Linked DNA regions of Homo sapiens: region 1 is linked to region 2. The links are contacts of gene promoters, found by promoter capture Hi-C in human tissues and cell types (Jung and others, 2019). All regions are on one chromosome and are shown on one strand. The core of a region is centred on a gene start or on the middle of the fragment in contact, and the rest is flanking DNA. Distances in the headings are between cores, read along the strand shown.

Region 1 (5,378 bases), core at 2,412-4,911, 64 kb after region 2:
GACAAAGATACTTTCTTTGTTATCTGAGCCTTTTGTCTTGTACATCCTCATTTGTGTTTTTTTTTTTTCACCCTGTCCTTTCTGATTTATGGGCGTTGATGGCCTCTCTAGGCTGAAACCTAAAGACTGTCTCTAGAATCTGTGTCTTACCAGACCAATTTTTAACTTCCTAGGATGGAAAATCCAGTTGTTTCAAATTGATAGAAATCTACCATCAATGTAGACTGGGTTTAGCCAGGCACTCATGCAAGACAATGCCTGCTCTATGCTGTAGACCAAGGGATTGCAAAAGTTGTGATGTTCTTGTCCAAACATGGAGAAACATGAGCTGGGGACTTGTGTGCGATTGTAAGCAATTGAACAACCACACCCAAAGAGGGTGAACTGATGTCACCCTGGAGACAAGTCGTCAGTGATGAGCTGAAGGGCTCTGCTCACTCTGCTCTGATTTTAGCATTTCTTTTAATGACTCAAATGAGTTATCCCTAGACAGCAAGCGTCCACACACAGGCTATGGCCCTGGCTTCCTTGGTGCAAGCAGGCCACATTAAAAAAGTCGTGCACATTTCTCATTTTTTTGACCACCCTCTGTCAATGCCCCTTCCTCAAAATACCATCCCGCAGTCTTTGTGGGACAGTAAATCCAGGAGCTAAGCTCCACAGTGGCCGCCAAACAGGTTCCCATCAGATGCCCTGGGAGTGAAAGATGCAAAGGTGGGGAAATGGCTGGAGCGCAGTCTTTGATTGCAGTGAATGGCAGACTGCAGTTCACCCCAGTCTTTATTCTCTTTTCCTGGGACTCCATTAGTGAATTGTGGAGTTTTGAATTGTCCTTTTGTTTCTCATCTGTTCTTTCACAGTTTATTTTTTCCCCTAGGTTCTGGGAAATTTCCTCTTTTATGATTCCTTGAACATCTTATTTCAGCTATCATTTTTTTTTTTCTAAGATGGAGTCTCGCTCTGTCCCCCAGGCCAGAGTGCAGAGGTGTGATCTTGGCTCACTGCAACCTCTGCCTCCTTGGTTCAAGAAATTCTCCTATCTCAGCCTCCCAGGTAGCTGGGATTACAGGTGCCCGCCACCACGCCCAGCTAATTTTTTTTTTTTTTTTTTTTTGTAGAAACAGGGTTTCACCATATTGGTCAGGCTGGTATCGAATTCCTGACCTCAGGTGATCCACCTGCCTAGGCCTCCCAAAGTGCTAGGATTACAGGTGTGAGTCACTGTGCCCGGCCAGCTATCATATTTTTAATCTATCTAATTGCTTCCCCTTGTTTTCTGATTATTCTTTTTTCAGATCAACCTGTTCTGGTTTTATAAACTTTTTCTTAAACCTCTTCTAGTCGGCTGGGCACAGTGGCTCATGTCTGTAGTCCTAGCACTTTGCAAAGCTTGCTTGAGCCCGGGAGATTGCAGCTGCAGTGAACTATGACTGCACCACTGCACTCCAGTCTGGGTGAGAGAGCGAGACCTTGTCTCGAAACAAACAAACAAAAAACAAAAAACCTCTTTGAGCCAAGTTTTCTTCTATTCCCTGACGATCTTTCCACCAGAGTTCATTTTTCACCTATATATCTTGCTCTTTCTTTTTCAGGCTGCTGGTTCTGGGAATGTCTTGGTGATCTTTGGTTGTCTGGTCATATCTTAAAAAGAAGGTCTATGTGACTCGGTGGCTTCTCCCCAGTGAGAATTCTGACTGGGTGCTCTGGGTATGGGGTCGAGGAGGATGAGGTCACTTGATTGCCCAGAATGAGGACTTTAGTGTACCAAGGTGATGAATAAAAGCCTTTGATTCTCCAATATGGATTGCTTAATTTCTTTTTTCTTTTTCTTTCCCTTTTTTTTTTTTTTTGAGACCGAGTCTTGCTCTGTCGCCCAGGCTGGAGTGCAGTGGCGAGATCTCGGCTCACTGCAAGCTCCACCTCCAGGTTCACGCCATTCTTCTGCCTCAGCCTCCCAAGTAGCTGGGACTACAGGCGCCCGACACCACGCCCAGGTAATTTTTTTTTGTATTTTTAGTAGAGTAACATGGTTTCACCATGTTAGCCAGGATGGTCTCCATCTCTTGACCTCGTGATCCGCCCGTCTCGGCCTCCCAAAGTGCTGGGATTACAGGCGTTAGCCACCGCCCGACCAATACTTAATTGCTTTAAAGAGCTGTCAAGGACTTGTTTGTTTACTTTTGCCTGAGGGTAGATGCCAGCTGCTTGGACTGAGGGCCTGGGGATGGGGGAAGGTGGGGGAGGAGAGAGAGAAGCAGGTGGGTACAGTTGATCCACCCTAGAGCTTTCCCGGCTCACAGGCCTCCTGGCAGCACTTCCCTGCCGCCTGCTGTTTGTCTGTTAACCCTCTCCCAACTGACCTCAGCTTCCAGGGTGTAGGGACTCTCATCCCTGTGTGGTACCCACTTACCCTGTCCTCAGGGTATGAGCTTATTCCTTATTGGACTTCTTGTCCATCAATCTGAAGAGTCAAGGCAGAGACATCCTGTCTGGTTTATTAATGAAAAATGAAAAAAAAATCCCACATGCACGTTTAGTATTTGTTATCCCATGGGTAGTATCTCTAGTAAAAGAACTGTAAATTAACATATTATTTCCATTGAAGTAAATAATGTATTGCTTTAAAAGATATATATGTAATATACAAAAACATGCTTCTTAGGCCGAGCACAGTGGCTCACGCCTGTAATCCCACTTTGGGAGGCTGAGGCAGGGGGATCACGAGGTCAAGAGATCGAGACCATCCTGGCCAGCATGGTGAAACCCCATCTCTACTAAAAATACAAAAATTTACTGGGCATGGTGGCGCGCGCCTGTGGTCCCAGCTATTTGGGAGGCTGAGGCAGGAGAATCGCTTGAACCTGGGAGGTGGAGGTTGCAGTGAGGTGAGATCGCGCCACTGCACTCCAGTCTGGCAACAGAGTGAGACACTGTCTTAAAAAAAAAGAAGGGAAGAAAAAAAAAACTAAAAAACACATGTTTCTTGTAAAAATGCAGATACAAGATGGCTTTTCCCTTTATTTCCCCACCCCAGTTCTGCTCTTTTCCCAGGAAGTGGCTGCTGTTAATAATTGGGTGTATATCTTTGCCAACCATTATTAATGGATTTACGTATCCATGTTCATCTGTCTGATTATCAGTCTCTTCTCAATTTAGACAGGATTAAATTGTATATGTTATTTTGTGATTTTTTTTTAACTCGGTCATATGCCTTGGGTGGCTTTCCATGTCGGTACATGTAGAGCTATCATTCTTTCCCCTACTGGTTGACATTTAAGTAGTTTACAGTTTTTCTAAAAAGGCAGAATCTGTTGCTTTCTTGTTTCATTGACTCTTAGCATGTTTCTCACTGAAATTAAGAAATCCTGGTCATATCTGTAAAGAAGCCCGGTGTGTTGAATGGAAAAACCTAATTGGATGAAATACAACAAGTCGAGCAGATCATACATAAATATGGTAAAACTTAGAAGTGCAGTTTCAACATCAGCCAAATAAAATACTAAAACTTCTTTAATAAAGCGTGTTATTCTATCCCAGTTCGTGAATGAAGCAGAATCAAATCAAATTTATTTTGCTCCGAGTTAAGGAGACAAGCCAGTTTGCTTTTCTTCTGTCAAATATATTTATAACAAGTGCCCAAGTTTAAAATGTCCTTGTTTCTCCCCTACTGTTTGTTTCCTACTATTTTATGCCTATTTTTCTTATTCTCCACACTCTTAAGTTCTTGATTTATCAGTTGTTCTTTTTGTTATAGGTCTTGAAACTGGAATCAGTTTAACCTCAAAGGGACTATCACAATGTAAATTTCCAGTCAAATCCCATTTAAAGCAATGAGAACATGGGCCTGGCACGATGGCTCATTCCTGTAATGCCAGCATTTTGGGAGGCTGAGGTGGGAGGATTCCTTGAGCCCAGGAGTTTGAGTCCAGCCCTGGTAACAAAGCGAGATCCCATCTCTACAAAAATTTTAAAAATAAAAATATTAGCTGGGCATGGTGGCGCACACTTGTAGTTCTAGCTACTCAGGAGGCTAAGGTGGGAGGATTCCTTGAGCTTGGGCAGTTGAGGCTGCAGTAAGCTGTGGTTGTGCCACTGCACTCCAGCCTGGGTAACAGAGTGAGACCCTGTCTCAAAAAAACCACCAACACCAACAACAGAAAACAACAAAAACAGAAACAAAAAAACAAACTGAAGAGAACATCTATAGACAAAACCACACATTTTCAGGATCTAGATCCACACCTTCCCTGGAGAAAGGGAGAAGTCTCCTCTCTCTTTTTATTTATTTTTTTGAGGCAGGGTCTTGCTCTGTTGCCCAGGCTGGAGTGTAGTGGTGTGATCACAAGTCATTGCAGCCTCGACCTCCTGGGCTCAAGTGATCCTGTCACCTCAGCCTCCTGAGTAGTTGGGACCATAGGCACGGGACATGCCACCATGCCTGCCTAACTTTTTTTTTATTTTTTGTAGCAATGGGGTCTCACCATGTCTCCCAGACTGGTCTTGAAATCCTGGGCTGAAGTAATCCTCCTGCCTCAGCCTTCCAAAGTGCTTGGTATTACAGGCATGAGCCACTGCGCCTGGCCGAGGTCTTCACTTTTGAAAGAGCACAAATCCTTTACATGGCCAGTTCTGGCAGGTCTTTTCTACCATTCCACACCAAAAGATTTTCAGAGTTCTGCTATGCTGAGATTAGCATTGAATTTCACTGGCTGTGTGGCAGAATGACTTTACTTCCCATTTTCACATTTTTTTAATCTGCAGAAACTTGGTACTCACCAGGTGTCCCTTTGCAAGGCTGGGTCAGAACTCCAGCTTATATCCTGCTCTTAACAAGAGCAGCTACCACTAAGGGGGCACCTGACTATGTGCAGGCACTGTTGTATGAGTTTCACATTCATTTTCTCACTTAATCCTCAAAATATTCCCATGCAGTAGGCCTTGATGGGGAAACTGAGGCCCAGAGCAGTTGGGTCACTTGCTTAAGTCACACAGTGCTTCAGATTCCTGAGAGAGCTGGGCTTCAGACCCAGTCTGCCTGGTGCCAAAGCCTGGACTTTTAGCCTCTGTGCTACACGTTCACCACTAACCAACTCTCTCTCTCTTTCTTTCTTCCTTCCTTCCTTCCTTCCTTTCTTTCTTCTTTCTTTCTTTCTTTCTTTCCTTCCTTCCTTCCTTCTTTCTTTCTTTTTTCCTTTCTTTCTTTCTTTCTTTCTTTCTTTCTTTCTTTCTTTCTTTCTTTCTTTCTTTCTTTCTCTTTCCTTCTCTTTCTTTCTCTCTCTCTCTCTCTCTCCCTCCCTCCCTCCCTCACTCCCTCTCTCCCTCCCTCCCTCCCTCCCTCCCTCCCTCTCTCCCTCCCTCCCTCCCTCCCTCTCTCTCTC
Region 2 (5,879 bases), core at 1,098-3,597:
ACTTTGAGGGGTTCAAGACTTCAGTGGAGGATGTAATTGCAAATGCGGGACACACAGCAGGGTCTCACTCTGTTGTCCAGGCTGGAGTGCAGTGGCACGATTGTGGTTCACTACAGCCTCGACCTGCTGGGCTCAAGCATTCCTCCCACCTCAGCCTCCCAAGTAGCTGGAACTACAGGTGCACATCATGCCCAGCTAAGATTTGTATTTTTTTGTGAAGATGAGGTTTCACTATGTTGCCCAGGTTGGTCTTGAACTCTTGAGCTCAAGCAATCCTCCTGTCTCAGCCTCCCAAAGTGCTGGGATTAATGTTGCAATCTCATGATAAAACTTGAACAGATGAGGAGTTACTTCTTACGAAGGAGCAAAGAAAGTGGTTTTTTGAGATGGAATCTCCTGGGGAAGATTCTGTGAACATAGTGGAATGGCAACAAAGGATTTAGAATATTACATAAATATTAGTTGATAAAGCAGTGGCAGGGTTTGTGAAGATTAACTCCTTTTTTTTTTTTTTTTTTTTTTTGAGACAGGGATTTTCTCTGTCACCCAGGCTGAAGTGCAATGGCGCAATCATGGTTCACTGCAGCCTTGACCTCCTGGGCTCAGTGGATCCTCCAACTCAACCTCTTGAGTAGCTGGGACTACAGGCATACGCTGTCACCACATGGCTATTTTTTAATTTTTTGTGGAGACGGGTTTCACCATTTTGCCCAGGATTTTTAGCCCAATTTTAACATCAACGTGTGTACACTGTTTTTTAGACATAATGCTATTGTACTTTTAATATATTACAGTATAGTGGAAACATGTTTATTATATACACTGGGAAACAACAACAAAAAATTGAGTGTGGCTCTCTTTTTTGCAATGGCCTGGAACTGAACCCCCAGTCCCTCCAAGGTATGCCTGTAAATGGACCAAACAGGAAGCAATTTCGTGGGTTTCATATTAAAAGCTTTAAACATTTATATAACTGTTATTTATACAAAGTGTGCTTACAGGCATTTACTATGTAAAATTGTAACTCATAACTTTGCTTTAGTTAACAATTGTTGAATAAAAAGTTATCAGTGGAATAGCCAGTCTCTGTAATAAATGCATATTGGTAAATTTTCTCTGAGCCAAGTGTACAGTTTGTAAATTTTCTTTCTGTTATGTTTGTTCTGATTGTTTATTAAGTATAACTTTGGGTCTGTCAAATTAAATATTTAAAAGTAAGCTTACGTTTTGCATAGTTGTTTTTAAATTTCACTTTTTCTTTCTTTTTCTTTTTTTTGAGACGGAGTCTCGCTCTGTCGCCCAGGCTGGAGTGCAGTGGCCACAATCTCGGCTCACTGAAGCCTCAATCTCATAGGCTCAAGCGATCCTCCCACCTCAGCCTCTCTACTAGCTAGGACTCCAGGCATGGGCCACCACGCTCAGCTAATTTTTAAAAATCTTTTACTTTTTGTAGAGATGGGGGTCTCGCTATGTTGCCCAGGGTGGTCTGGAACTCCTGGGCTCAAGAGATCCGCCCTCCTCGGCTTCCCAAAGTGCTGGGATTACAGGCGTGAGCCATTGCGCCCAGCCTCGAATAATTTAATTTTAATGTTAATTTAGTAAGTATCAGTCACGGACAGATTGGAAAAAGAAAAACATCTGATCCCTCATCTTGATAGTGAGTAGCACTGGTTTACACAGCTAGGCTGCTCCTTGAAGGCTGACACTGCATTTTATTCAAATTTTCCTGACAGTGGGACTTAGGCAATTATATATTGAATAAATAAATGAATTTTCACTCTGCTGCTGGGTCCAGTGGTCTCATAAAATGTCTATCATAATTTCTCAATGATTAGCCTTGGTAACATCTACTTAAGTTTATTAAATGCCAGGATCCACGCTACGCCCTTCACCATTCATTCCCCAGCCTTCGCTCCCACGGTCTCTGTGGGGATGGGGCGTGCCCAGCACTACGGCCCGCCCTACCTATGCATTCGTTGGTCGAACTCGACGCCCGTTACTGCCGAGTCCCGCCCAGGCCTTGCCCCCTCGTAGTCGGCCAGGCCGAGAGGAGGCGTGGCCACTGCCGCGCCGGGGCGGTCTGGCGGAGGGGGGGGAGGTCTCCCCTCGTCTCGTGATACTCTGGGCGAGCTCGCGGGCGGGCTGTGGGTCGCGAGCCGCCGTGGGAGCGCGTGTCGCGGTCCCCAGGAGCCGCCGGCCGACGCTCCGCCCCGCCCCCTTGGCGCCCAGGTCCCGCGCGAGCTCGCGCACGCGCGCGCGCGCACCCGCCAGAGGCTTGTTTGAGGCCCGCGGGGACTGGGCGGGCGGAGGCCGGGCTGCCGAAGTGTGAGGGGAGGAGCCCGAGCCGTCGCTGCTGCCGCCGCTAAGGGAGAGGAGCATGTCTGCAACTCGAGCCAAGAAAGTGAAGATGGCCACCAAATCATGCCCCGAGTGCGACCAACAGGTGGGTGCCGGGGGCCGGGCGCGCGGGCGGGCGGCAGTGGCTTGGCGGCCGTTGTCTGTGGAGGGGGGCCTCGCCGGGCTCCCGGAGGCCGAGCGGTGGGCAGATCCTGGGGCCCGCCGGCGGCGGCGGGGATCCGGGGCCGGTCGGGCTGCACCGAGGGGTTTCCCGGGAAAAGCCCGGGGCCGTGGCCCGCCAGCGTCCACCTGGCGGCGGCCAGACGGCCAAGCCCCTTCTTGCTGTGTCCCGGCCACTGGAGGAGCGCGCCTTTGGTGGGCTCACCGGGCGGCTGTCTGGAGCCCCAGACTCTCCTCGCCGGCGGCGGTGACAGCGGTGGGAGCCTGCGGGCCGCAGCCCCGGCGAGAGTGTGCCGCACGCCCGCCTCCGAGGCCAGGCCCTAGCTCCGAGAACCCCTCCTGCGGCCGGGGCGGCTTTGTTCCCGGTTCCGACGGGTGCGGGGCTTCCCCAAAACGGCCCCTCCGCGACCGGGGCGGGCGCCTGAGTGGGACAAAGGGGGCCGCGTGTAATGATTTTGAGTTTCGGCGAATTTGGAGATTTTTTCCCCTTCCTCATCTATTTATTATATTTTTGCTGTGCAATCGCGAATCCTGCCTTTACATCGTTTTTAATGGGTCATGATTGAATAAAGCCCCTGTTTAAGCCCTTCCTCCTTTTTGGGCGCTCCTAACTTCCCCACCCCTCGCAGTATCCACTGTTACAAATTTGGCCTGTCTGCTTCCAGATCTGTATCCCTGTCTGTCTGAATGTCTCTGTGTGTCTCTCTCTCTCTCTCTCTCTCTCTCTCTCTCTCTCTCTCTGTCTGTCTCTCTCTATCTCTCTATCTCTCTATCTCGTTTCTTGAATTTGAAACGATTCCTTTCTACATTGAGTTCATGGTGTAATAGTTGTAATTTAAAACATCTCATTTCAGTGATCGCTGTGTTGAAGCGTGTCTCAATTCTTTACTGGAATAATAGACATTCCTTTAAGCCTTAACATCTAATGAGTTAAAACTACTTCAGTTAAAACCATTCGTAAGGCCCTCGTTTGTTACCAACATGTAGATCTGGGTGTGTTTTTTCCTTTTCCACTGAGTGGATTTTTTCAAAATGACTACCTTTCTCTCCTCCCCTCCCCCCACCGCCTTTTTTTTTTTTTAAATCAAGAGTAATTTGAAATGGCTGGAGACTTTTTAATAAGCTGATTTTAGTGCATTTTTCAAGGAGAATTCTTGTAGGTTTTTCAAATCTTTTAACAGAAAACATGTTACATGTTTTATTAAGTATCCTTTATGGGCTGTAGTAAAAATGCTTATCAGAAAAAGGTTGTGCAAGAAATACAGTGTAGGAGCTATACCAGTATGCAGTATAAAAACAGTTTAGTCATGTTTTCCAAAGAGTTACTTTCATTCTTACTACTGAACTAAATTTGTTAAATTTTGACAAAACTGGACTTTGCAATATGACTCTTTGCGGGAGATTATTTCAGTGTTTAAATCATTTCCAATTATTCCAGTTAATTGTGTAGAAGTGTAAGGTTTACATGGTATGCGTTATGCATTCCAATTTCTGTAAGGCACAAGTATTTGCAAATCCTGACTTTGTTCTAATTGGCATAAAGCAACCTTTTGGGAAAAATAGCCACTTTTTATGGCTATTTTTATATAAAAGAGCAAAGGATAATAAACTTATAGGAGTTTCTGAAAAACTGTTCAACAAAACAAGATCAGCGTTTTATTTGGAAAGATCACATTCATTTTGTTATACACCCCCTCCCCCATATTTATTCTTTCATATAAAATCAGCTTACCCAGCTTTGGCTGCCATAACAAAAGCATGATTATGTTCTGGTGAGGGCTCTCTTCTTGGCTTGCAGATGGCTGTCTTCTTGGTGTCCTCACATGGCAGAAAGAGGGTCAAGCTCTCTCCCTTTTCTTAAAAGGTCCCTAATCACATCATGAGGGCCCCACCCTCATGACTTAATTTAAACCTAATTCTCTCTCAAATGGCCCATCTCCAAATACCATCACATTGCGGTTAAGGCTTCAATATATGAATTTGGATGTCGAGGGGTGCATAATTCCACCCAGAGCAAACTAGTACATAATTTAATGAGTTGGTTTGTTTTGTCCTTTATTCCAAATACTTAAGTGAATGTAACATACATAAGGACTAATTAAAACTTTTGGTGATATGAACCTGATGTGAAAAAATAATGGATGAATTTTAGCTTTCTCATTATTTAAAAGTACTAGCTTCTTTTAGTTATAAGCCAGAATATGATTATAATCCAGAAAGCCATTTTCTAAACATTAGAATACTGCTATGATTCTAAGTTGCCTAAAAAAAATTAAATTCGAATTTAGGTATAGTTTATAAACATAAATGTAAAATCTTTAAATTTGAGATTTCCCAGTTGACTAGATTTACTTATGTGGGTGTGTAAGTTTGAAAAATGGGTACAGAGATCAGCAAAGAAGAAAAAGCTAGATTTTCAACTGCTTTGTAACATCTCCTTTGCAGGCTTCTATTGAACATATCATTCTAAAACATCTTAAACCACAGTCCTTTTCATTTTCAAGGGGTTTCATATCCATCAATCACTCAAAATTACTGAGCCATTTTGTGTGCATCAGTGCTCAAGATTCTTGTCAGTTTTCTGGTATCTTTTGTGTATGCTTCTGTTTTTGCCTTCATTTTTAAAAAAAATAGAGCAGCTTTTTTTTAATTTAAAGGACATTTTATGTGATGTATATAAAATATGTCTGGTATAAGTTCCTTTGGTTCTTTCAGTAGTAAAGAATATAAATGAGTTTTCTGTAATGTAATTATTTTGGAGCTTTTAAAAAATCAGTTAAATGGCTGTGTGCAGTGGCTCACACCTGTAATCCCAGTACTTTGGGAGGCCGAGGCAGGTGGATCACGAGGTCAGAAGTTCCAGACCATCCTGGCTAACACGGTGAAACCCTGTCTCTACTAAAAAATTAGCTGGGTGTGGTGGCATGCACCTCTGTAGTTCCAGCTACTCGGGAGGCTGAGGCAGGAGAAGTGATTGAACCCGGGAGGCAGAGGTTGCAGTGAGCCGAGATCGCACCACTGTACTCCAGCCTGGGCGACAGAGACTCCGTCTCAAAAAAAAAAAGTAAAAAAATCAGTGAAACACTATAGGACCAGATTTTTTTTTTTTTCAGATTTAAAAAATCCAGGCTGGGCATGGTGGCTCACACCTGTAATCCCAGCACTTTGGAAGGCCGAGGTGGGTGGATCACCTGAGGTCAGGAGTTCGAGACCAGCCTGGCCAACATGGTGAAACCCCATCTCTACTAAAAATACAAAAATTATCCGGGCGTGGTGACAGGCACCTGTAATCCCAGCTACACAGGAGGCTAAGGAAGGAGAATCACTTGAATCTGGGAGGCAGAGGTTGCAGTGAGCCAAGA

The links. The method cuts DNA at HindIII sites, captures the fragments that hold promoters and counts their contacts. A contact is called where the count stands out against the background at its distance.
Region 1: a fragment that was not itself captured here is called in contact with the fragment with the promoter of C16orf87 in region 2 in 1 of the 25 tissues and cell types used here (lymphoblastoid cells).

What each region holds. Positions count from the first base shown.
Region 1 is chr16:46,765,908-46,771,285 of GRCh38, reverse strand. No RefSeq gene overlaps it. Among named protein-coding and RNA genes, the nearest start is that of MYLK3, 20 kb to the right of the region's middle. RefSeq lists an enhancer at 1,881-2,416. The HindIII fragment of the contact is 8,068 bases long and covers 1-5,378 here.
Region 2 is chr16:46,827,648-46,833,526 of GRCh38, reverse strand. It overlaps C16orf87 (chromosome 16 open reading frame 87), which reads left to right and starts at 2,347. Exons shown (of 4, transcript NM_001001436.4): 1 at 2,347-2,443. The coding sequence starts at 2,378. RefSeq lists a silencer at 2,001-2,650. The HindIII fragment of the contact is 8,650 bases long and covers 1-5,879 here.